Linked DNA regions of Homo sapiens: region 2 is linked to region 1. Evidence: promoter capture Hi-C in human tissues and cell types (Jung and others, 2019). All regions are on one chromosome and are shown on one strand. Each heading gives the region's core, a stretch centred on a gene start or on the middle of the fragment in contact. The rest is flanking DNA. Distances are from core to core; before and after follow the strand shown.

Region 1 (5,159 bases), core at 1,756-4,255:
CTGTAATATGATGCTCTTTGCCATGTGGACAGGAAGAGGAAGGGTGCTATGGACTGAGAAATCACTATGAGCAAGAATGTGAACTTGAGGGTGTGTGGAAAACAACACTGTAGCCTGAGCCAAAGAAACATGGAGTAAGGGAAGGGATTTGACATAAGGCAGGCTGGTAGGGGTCAGTTTTTGAAAGGAACTCAAATGACTCTGTCTCTGACTCCTAACATCCTCTCTGGCAAAATTAAAAGTCAATCACGTTTTAGCTATTTACATTTTCCTATTTTCTTTAGACCTTGCCATATTTTATTACCAATGAGCCATCTGTACATATGCCATCAGTTTTATTCAAAAAATTACACTGAAGCCTTTACATATTCTAGACAATGTGCTAGAGTTTACATGTAAGATCATGTTAATTTTCATGAAGAGTTTGCAAAAGTAGTACTATGAAACCGATATTAGAGTTGAGAAAACTGAAGCTGAATCCTCATGAGAATCCAACCTATCTAACTTGAAGTTCATTTTGCTTTAATAGTTGGGCTTTGTAATGTCATTTACCCATGTGTGTTCCACAGAGGATAAAGCATGAGAAAAAAGGATTCTATGGTCATGTAAGTAAGGAGACCAAATTGCACTACATCTCCCCCTTGAAGACTCACAATTTTTTTTTTTTTTTTTTTTTCAGACGGAGTCTCGCTTTATCGCCCAGGCTGGAGTACAGTGACACAATCTCGTCTCACTGCAACCTCCGCCTCCTGGGGTCAAGCGATTCTTCTGCCTCAGCCTCTGGAGTAGCTGGGACTACAAATGTGTTTGTTTAAATAGGTACCCTGAAGTCTGAAATAAGGAGAGCCATTTTGTTTCATTTATCTAAGTATTTCATGAGCTCAGTTGGCTGTCTGAGAATTTTCCTTTTCCTGGTAAAACATTTAATATTCCAGGGAATACTTTGGGAAACTCTGCCTTAGAATATATTAGGAGAACCCTATTAATTAGAACTCATTTAGAATTAAAAAAAAACCCTATTGCATGCTCTTAAACTGATCTTTGTCAAAGTGAGAGTCATGACTTGCTGGGTTGTGAAATCAATTGAGTGCTCATCTGCAATTGGGGTTGCAGGGAAAGAATGGCAAGAAAAATATCAGGGTTGTTGCATGCAGTACAGGTAAGTACTGAATCATGAAATTTTTACTGGGTCGCTATGCAATATGCATTTCTCTCTGTGGTGATGGCCAAAAATGTCTGAAGCCGCTGCTTTCCTGAAAGTCACATGAATTGCTTGCTATGCCGGGAGTTAGGTGATAACTAATGTCTGAATGTTGTAAAATTAACACAAAAGGGCCTACTGTAATAACATGGTTAAATACATTATTTGTTATTACCTAAAATCAGATGATTTTAGATCTCAAATATCTCATAGAGGAGAAACCAAAATAGAGGTTTATTCTGACTTGTCAAGGTAAGACAGCTGTTAGCTGGGTCTAGAACCTAGATCTCCTAATGTGTATCTCTAGTGTTCTTTTACTTGTCAGTGTAAATTGACAGATTTTTCATTTATGGAATGCTTAGGGTTACTTCTTTTTAATGAATAGACAAACTCGGTGTAAAATGTAGCAAATCACTCCTGGATAGCTAGTTAATGACAAGTTACAAAAATGCTACAGGCTTTAATTGAAGGAAAAAAGTAATTTAGAGATACTTCAGTGCTGGGGTCTAATTCTAATTCCAATTAATAACTAATTGACCTAATATCCTGTTTTACTAGGTGGGGCCATTTAGTTACCTAGTTTCTCATTTGTATATGTAAATGTCCTCGATATATGATTTTGAGAAGACTTAGCAGATAAAACATCAGTGAACACCAAATCTTTCCATGCTTAAGTTAAAGGCACAACCATCACGTTACCTCTCCAGGAATAAACAATGAATCGAAGTTATAGGAAACCCTCCAAACTCACATTGCTTTTAAAAAAGAACAAGAACTATGACTTATCTTGCATCTCATAACAAGATAAACACTAGCTCGTTTTATTGTGGGCAGGCCTCTTCAAGACTGTCCAGTTGAAGTCTTGAAGTTCGTATCTAAATTTGTGTCTACTCACTCCTGGCTCGTGGACCGGTCAGTGGAGGTTGGAGCTATTTCCTTTTCCTCCTGTCTGCTTTCTGGAAAGCACCCACAGGTGTCTACGCCTGGGAGGTGGGCCTGGGCTAGGATTCCAGCAAACTCTCAGGTTGGTGTCATTTCCCCTCAGGAAGCGCCAGGCCACAGCGGGCAGAAATCATTTGATAACTTAATCTGGGTGTGAGGAAGAGTCGCTGAGGCCTGTGTACTCTAGTGATAAACGGAAGCATCCGGGTGAGTCAAGGAAAGGACGTGGTATCTTTTAAAACTAATATAAACGAATAAAGCCTAAACAAGAGCTTACAAAGAAGGACACCCCCTGCCAAAACGTGGGAGGTGACTGGTGCCTGGAAGGGAGATCACCGCGTGGTTAAGATCTGGAGGTTCCAGGGCTTCTCTTCGGGGAGAATTCTCTGGCTGGGAGAACAGTGGAGGTTGGAGGAGGTGAATTTCCTACAGCCCAGGACCAGCCCTCGGACCCTCCCCCTTCCTATAATTAACTCAACGCGCGTCCCGCCAGTCGGGACCGGTGGCGCCCCTGGACCCTCCCCTCCTCTCGCCCTAGGCGGAGAAGGAGAGGCTCCAGGGTGGGAGGTCGAGCCCGGGCCACACCAGCCCCCGAGCGGTCTCCAATCCTGACACGGTGCGGGGGGCGCGGGTTCGGGCCCCGCATGACGTGGGCGCCACGGCGGGAGGGGCAGTCCGGGGAGCTCCGGACGCCTTATTAGCGCCCCGCGGGTCGCCAGCAGCCAGCAGACTGCCGCGCTGCGAGCAACAGGAGCCGGCGAGCGGCCCACTCCTCCCACCTCCTCCGCCTGCCTTCTCCTCCTCCCCTTCGCTCCTCCCGCCCCCACCTCTGCGTGTGCGGCGGAGTCGCCCTCTCCCTGCCTCTTTCTCCCGCTCCCGCTCGCTCGTCTCTCTCGCTAATACTTCCCCCTGCTGTGCTCCGGGGAACCCAAGCATTCTCCGCGCTAACCTTAGGGACCAATGGTGCTCGAAAAGCCTCGAAAAAGCTGCTTTGGGCAGAGATAGTTGGAAAGCCCCTCGTCCCTTCCCCCTCTCCCAGGCTTAGCCTGTGCCCGCTTACAGCACCTTCTCGCTCCTGCACACTCTGTGTTGGGAGGACGGGGTGAGAAGGTGAAGTGGAAAAAACTGCAGAGCAGAGGGGGCCAGTCTCAGAGCTCAAATTTCATTTTCATTGAAGCAAAGCACAGAAGATCATTTTTTTCTATTTCGCATTTTTTCCCTTTTCCTTTTTTTCTTAAAGAAACTTATTTTGGGCGGGGGGGGTGGGTTTGCTCTGGGCATTTGCTTTGCCCAGTAGTTGGAAAGTGAACTCGACTCGTGATGGTTCTCCTGTCACTTTGGTTGATAGCAGCCGCTCTGGTAGAGGTTAGGACTTCAGCTGATGGACAAGTAAGTGGAAAATAATAACAATAAAAAAAAACTCAAACCCAACCTTTTCCCGAAAAGTTCCTCCCCTCTCTACCCTCCTCTCTTTCCTCCTTCTCCTCCCACCCTTCCCTGTTATCTTTTGCGTTCAGAAACGGTGTTTTGAGGGCTGGGCGCAGCGTGCGGGCTTTTGGGGGTAGAGGGTTGAGTTGCACGGGAGGTTACGACTCCCACTCCGGGAGCCCAGTCTTGTCACACCTAGGGCTTCACCAGTCTGCGACATTCGTAACAATTCCTAGTGACAAACCGCAGCCAGTTCCCATCCTCGCCGGGCCATCTGGGCTTCCCCTTTCTGGAGGGCGGTCTGGGCGCTTGAATGAAGTTCTGGACGCTGGGTCCGGGATCCCAGCGCTCTGGCTGCTGCCGCCAGAGTCGGGTTCCTGGAGCTTTCTCTCCTCCGAACTGACTCACGGTTTTTTCGGGCAGCCGGAGGCGGGGGTTTCAGGAAGTCCTTGGGCCGGACAGGGAGAGATCCAGTAGACACGTGTCCTGGGAGTACCACGGCCGGGCTAGGATTTGACAGTTGGGGAGGGGGGCTGGAGACGTTTCCTGCCCTCCGTTTTCCTGGGCAGAGGCTGCAGGCGCCGGCCGCCTTCTCCCCTCCCCCTCTGCACAACTCCTCCTCTTTTTAAAGCTAAGTTGAGTGCAGCTCTGTTTCTTTTCGGCCCTGCCCCCAACCCTTTGGAGGCTCAAGGTGAAGCCCGATGCTCTCAGAAGAGTCCTTGAGAAGGCTCCGCCAGGGGAGCTGTTTGTAGTAAATCATATCAGCACTGGGCCGATGGGACTTTGGGTACAGAATTTCTCTGTTAGTTTTTGTAGCTTCTCCGGTCGGCCTGGTCTGAACGACCATAGGGTAAAAAGTAGAGAATTGTCTAGTTGATTCCTGACCTTAAATCTGATTAATCAGGCCCCCTGTTAGGTGTATTTTGGCCTGTTAAATTCATACTTTCTTTTCTAATCCAGACCCAGTACGACATTTCAGAAGAGAGCATTGAGAGTCTGTATGTATTTTTGCTGGCTTCATAAGTGTTAAATTAAAATGAAAAGGGGCAAACAACTCCCTTCCCCAAATTGTTATGGAATTGGCTCATGGAACCTTCTACAAACCAAGGTGCAGGCTTTAGGCACCAATCCCAGTCTCTAGCATCTCCTGATTAGTTAGCTCTTGGAAACCATTAATGGTAGAAATAAAACTCACAAGGTGATAAGATGAAACCCAGTAACTTTCTTTTTCTTGCTTTCCCCCTCCTTTCCAGGCTGGTAATGAAGAAATGGTGCAAATAGGTAAGCTTTGTTCTCAGATGTCACTCTTATCTTAAGTTGAAAGTAAGGGAATGAAGTGAGCTAAGCAAAATATTGTTTCTGAAATGTTTCCCACTGGTGGTTAAAAAAAATAATCTGTAGTCCGGAAACATTTCTGTTCTTCTCTTCCTCTTTCTGGAGGAAGGTCCCACTTTCCTGGGGCTAAATTATAGTGAGGTAAAAATTCTCCTGCAGTTGGACATTTCAAGCATCAGTTTATTACTGTCTTTGTACAAGCCACTGATATGTACTTGGAAGATGATGGAGGGGCTGTAAGATGATATGGAGA
Region 2 (5,159 bases), core at 735-3,234, 83 kb after region 1:
ATAGAACCTGATTTTTACTCACATGCTAATTTTTACATATATGTAAAGGGAATGAATACAAGACTGAATATGTAGCAGAAAGTATTGTTAATAAGAGATGGAAAGCGTTTTTGTCACTAACCGATATAAGACTGCATGCTCATGGTAAATCTGGAACCAAAGGTAATGGTTACAGAGTGGTATAACTGATTGCCCATGTATGGTGAGGGACAGGGCAGACAGAGATGGGCATCTGTTTTACTTAGCATTAGCTATTGAAATTTTGTTTTGCTGATTGGTTCTTTGACTCCTTCACTCTCATCTAGTGAATTTTTCTTGGCTCCAAGCCACCTCTTAAGAAGATCATAGATTCTTGTGATGGAGTCAGAATACTTGCTGCAAATTTTTTGAAGACCTATTTTAGCACATGCATCCTTTTTTCCTTCTTAATATCCATGTTAGCTTTTTCTCCTACCTTTGTCTTCTACTTATTTGTTTTCCTGAACATTGAGCCAATATAATTTTATTAATGTGAATAATCACAATGAGTCATGTTTTCTGTGAAAAAGATTTAATGATCTAAGAGTTGACATACCTTTTATAGAGAATGTAAATCTTCTACAACAACCTTTGGCATACAGTGGTCACTATGCCTCACTTCTTGTGACTTTGGGAATATTTTAACCTCTCAGAATATTTTTTCTTCTCTTCTGTAAAGTAAAAGTGATGACTGGAGAGGTGATCATCCTTAAAATAAGTTATTAAATTCAGATAAGGATGTGCATAGTTTTCATGAAATCCAATGAACAATCTACAGTTAACTGAGCATTTATTATTTGCTATATTTTGCCCTTCTACCTTTTTAAACTAATGACATTAGAGGGGGAATAAGGAAGTGATAGAGCAGATGAGTGAAAAGCATCAGAGAATGAAGGTGCAGTATTCTGTCCATGCTGGCACTCTGGCTGTTCTAAGTAGTGCATTGACCCTCGAATGCCTGTATTCTTCACTTGAATTAAGTACTTGGCACTTTTTGTTCTTAAACTCTTTCTTCCATCTGGTCATGCAGTCTGTTTTGGGAAAGAATTATTTTTTTCTTTCATATTTGATTCAATCTTTTATTATCAGAAACCTGCCTATTTGAAAATTTGATTTTTCTAGCATTTGGATCTTTTCAAGCACTCTAAAAATAGAATCCATCCAAAGCCCTGGATTTATTAATGACGGAGGGCTCTTGCTTCAGAGGCCTGATGGAGGGCTAGGTTCTCAGTTTTCTTTGTGAAATAGACATAGAACCTATGATTCAAATAATTTTATTTTTTAAGTAGGAGCCAGATAGGCCTCTCTGTACAAGACTGAGCAGAAATATGAGTAAAGTATATGAATATCCAAATGTGGTTGTTCAACCAAGGTGGCCTCAGTACTTACTACAATGATGAAAATACATTTTGGGTGTTGGAGTACATTAGAACTGGATAAAGCTTGGCTGTGCCATCTAGAAACTTTGTTAAGTTGGGCAAGTTTAATTGATTTATGTAGATCTTAGTTTCCTCATTTATAAAACAGAAATGATATTTACTACAGAAGTTTTTCAGTCTGGTTTAACTAAGATAACATGTAAGTCTACTACTATATACAGTTCTTGCATGAAGGCACGTACTAGGTATCATCTTAGTCTATTTGGGCTGCTATATGGAAACATGTAAGAATGGGTAATTTCTAAACAACAGAAATTTATTGCTCACAATTCTGGATGCTAGGAAATCCAAGATCAAGGTACCAGCAGTTTCAGTGTCCAGTGAGGGCCCAGTCTCTGCTTCAAAGATAGCACTTGTTTGCTACATCCTCACATGGTGGAAGGGGCAAACAGGCTCTGTCAAGCCTCTTTTATAAGGGCACTAATCTCATTTATGAGGGCAAAGCCCTCATGACCTTATTACCTCCCAAAGGCCCCCCCTCTTAATTTCATTACCGTAAGGGTTAGGTTTCAACGTATGAATTTTGAGGGGGATGCTAACATTCAGACCATAGCAGTTGTTATATTTAGAAGGCATTGAACAATGTAAGTATGGTTAGGAGCAGCAAATATAACTCAGGAGAGAAAAGAAAAGTTTGTGTTTTGAAAATTAAGGGAACTTAAAAAATAGGAAGTTAGGAAACAAGAGTACTGGTAGAAATATATTTCTTGAATGATTTTATTGTGAACATATTTTTCCAATGATCTTTAAAAAAAAAATAACCTGTTAAACCAGAACATACATAATTAAGCCTGGAAGATAATGCAGGAAACGTAGCTAAAATTTTGCATTAGAATAGACATGTTTATCTATTCTCTATGATCTGATCAAAATTTTAAAAATTTATATCACTTCTAAAATCATTACTTGACAATTGAACTCCAGTCTAAACTACAAAAATTTTAGCTTAAACCCTTTGTGAATGAATCACTAAGATTAACATTTTTGTAGAGGTTTCAAGAAACCTCTTGAGTTGGAAACAAAATACACAAAAACAGTATATTGGAATATGTGGATAAATTCTGGAATATTTCATTTCTTTGAACTACGGATCTTGTTCCATGTTTTAGTGTTTGTTGTCATGAACATAATCACAAACCCACATGCTTGAAGCTTAATGAAAACCTTGTGGCTGCAGAAATAATCAGAAGTATAATATGCTGCATTTCTCTTTTTAACCCATTTCATCTTACTGACATTTTACAACCCATTTCATCTTACTGACATTTTACACACCATTTTCAAGAAGTTTTGAGCACACCAATCTGATGTAAATGCTCAGGTCTTTGATATTTATAATGTGGGAAATAGGAAAAACAAGGATACATGATTGAAAGGGAGGGTCGTTTATACTCTGGCATTTTGGGGGTCTTATACTTTAAAAAATCTATTCCCAAGAGTGATCTACAACCAGAATTGGACTTTTTCCTTGTTACCTGAGTATCTTTCAGGTATCTACCTTTAAGGTAGGCTATATGCTGCAATAGCAGCCACCCTCACCACCACTCTGCACACTTCCGCCATGCTGCCTATCCTCACCATCCATGGGAGTTTCTAGTTTGTCCTATATGACAAATGAGAGCACTGCAGATTTGCTGTGAGTAGCCTGTGAGATCCACTCCCACTTTTGCTAAGGTGAGTATATAAATCAAGGGAACTGAATTTTCCTGGCTTCATCTTTGGTCTGGTGTAGGAATGTAGCTCAAGTACAGTGAATCAAATACAACTCCATTTGTGCCTTAATGAGGTTCAGACACACTTATCTGCCTTTTGGTCTTTTTTTACCCTGCTTTAAGTATGCTGTACTAAGGGAATATTTGAGTAAGACATAGATGGTCAGGATCCCAAGTTTTGAAAGGGTAAATGTAGTTGTTGGTTTATAAATGATAATGGAAAAATATGTTTTTTAAAAGAAAAAAGGAAGGCATTTAACTTTCAGGACATTACTGGAAGAATTTTACACATAAGAAACTAGAATAGTGCCTTAATATGTACTGTGCACTGTAATTTAGTGTTAGGTTTTAAACTTTGTTATTATCTTTTTGCTTTTCCTTTTTACACATTTCTGGATTCTATTGCATTTAAGGAAGGACAGTAAGATTGGGGTAAATTAGATGGGATTGAGGGAGGGAGCCAGGGCTGTTTGAGAATAAATGGAGCAAATAAATAGAACAAACAAATGCTATCTTTTTTTTTTCTTTCTTTCTTTTTTGAGACGGAGTCCTGCTCTGTCACCCGGGCTGGAGTGCAATGGTGCCATCTTGGCTCACCGCAAGTTCCGCCTCCTGGGTTCACGCCATTCTCCTGCCTCAGCCTCCTGAGTAGCTGGGACTACAGGCGCCTGCCACCACGCCTGGCTAATTTTTTGTATTTTTAGTAGAGACGGGGTTTCACCATGTTAGTCAGGATGGTCTCAATCTCCTGACCTCATGATCGCCTGCCTCAGCCTCCCAAAGTGCTGGGATTACAGGCGTGAGCCACCGTGCCTGGCACAAATGCTATCTTAATGAAGGTTTGGGTATTCTTTGGATTTTACTTCTTTACTTTTATCCAAACAATTATATTGTTTTGCAGCTAGGTTGGATACTAGGAGTAGTGAAAACCTCTCTGAGAGCCACTGTTAACAGAAGATTTGTCCTACACTTGAGACTGGGGCAAACCAAATGTATTGTCTGGTTATCTTGGGGACAAATGAAGAATGAACTTCCTGAAACTCATTGTTGATGGGGTGTCACTCTTTTGGAAAAAGAGAAATAAAAGGAGTGAGGGATACTTGCCATTAGCTAAGACATTTATTATAAGACTGATTATTGATACTGCTTTAACCAAGGCTAGACTATTTAGTTTAGCTATAGAGCTTTTAAAATCAGATTTATTGGGGTATAACTTAGACAAAATGAAATTCACCAATTTTGGAAGTACAATTTGTATATTCCCTTGCATCCTGTGGCTTTGTAGTTTTAGTAGGTTTTTGGTAGCTCTCATAATTTTCTACATAAACTGTCATATTTTCTGGGAAAGAGAGTTTTATTTCTTCCCTTCCAATATGTACGCCTTTTTTTTCTTGCCTCATTACATTGGTTAGGATCTCTAGAAATGAAATGTTGAAAAAAAAGATGAGAGTAGAAATCTCTGTCTTAATCCTAATCTTAGGAAAATTGCATTCAGTCAATAATGGTTGATAGGACGTTAGCTGTAAGTTTTTCATTAGCACACTTTCAGGTTGGGGAACTGGCCTTCTAATTTTAGTTTGCTGATAGTTATTCTCTTTTATAGATGTTAAATCTTGTTAAATGCCTTTCTAGCATCTATTGAGATGGTCATGGGTTTTTTTATTTTTAGCCTGTTAGTATGATGAGTTACAGTGACCAATTTTCCAATGACTTATTACTTACATTGTGGTCCCCACAGCAGTGGAATCTGTATTATCTGAAGACTTGTTAGAAATACAGAATCTCAGGCTTTACTTACTAAATCATGATCTACATTTTTTTTAAATTAAACCTTTTTGAGATAGTTATAGATTCTGTTGCAGTTATAAGAAATGATAGATTCAGTGTACTCTTTTCTGTTTCCCTCAATAACATCCTCAACTACAGTATGATATTACCAATAGAATATTGACATTGATACAGTTAATATACAGATGTGTTACATGACTAA

What was found. Contacts are between HindIII fragments. The study calls those that stand out against the background at their distance.
Region 2: a contact is called between a fragment that was not itself captured here and the fragment with the promoter of ADAMTS3 in region 1, in 2 of the 25 tissues and cell types used here (dorsolateral prefrontal cortex and mesendoderm cells).

What each region holds. Positions count from the first base shown.
Region 1 is chr4:72,567,067-72,572,225 of GRCh38, reverse strand. It overlaps ADAMTS3 (ADAM metallopeptidase with thrombospondin type 1 motif 3), which reads left to right and starts at 3,005. Exons shown (of 22, transcript NM_014243.3): 1 at 3,005-3,532; 2 at 4,825-4,852. The coding sequence starts at 3,464. The HindIII fragment of the contact is 11,291 bases long and covers 1-5,159 here.
Region 2 is chr4:72,482,567-72,487,725 of GRCh38, reverse strand. The region is part of intron 3 of ADAMTS3 (ADAM metallopeptidase with thrombospondin type 1 motif 3); the gene reads left to right. Among named protein-coding and RNA genes, the nearest start is that of ADAMTS3, 84 kb to the left of the region's middle. The HindIII fragment of the contact is 5,223 bases long and covers 1-4,595 here.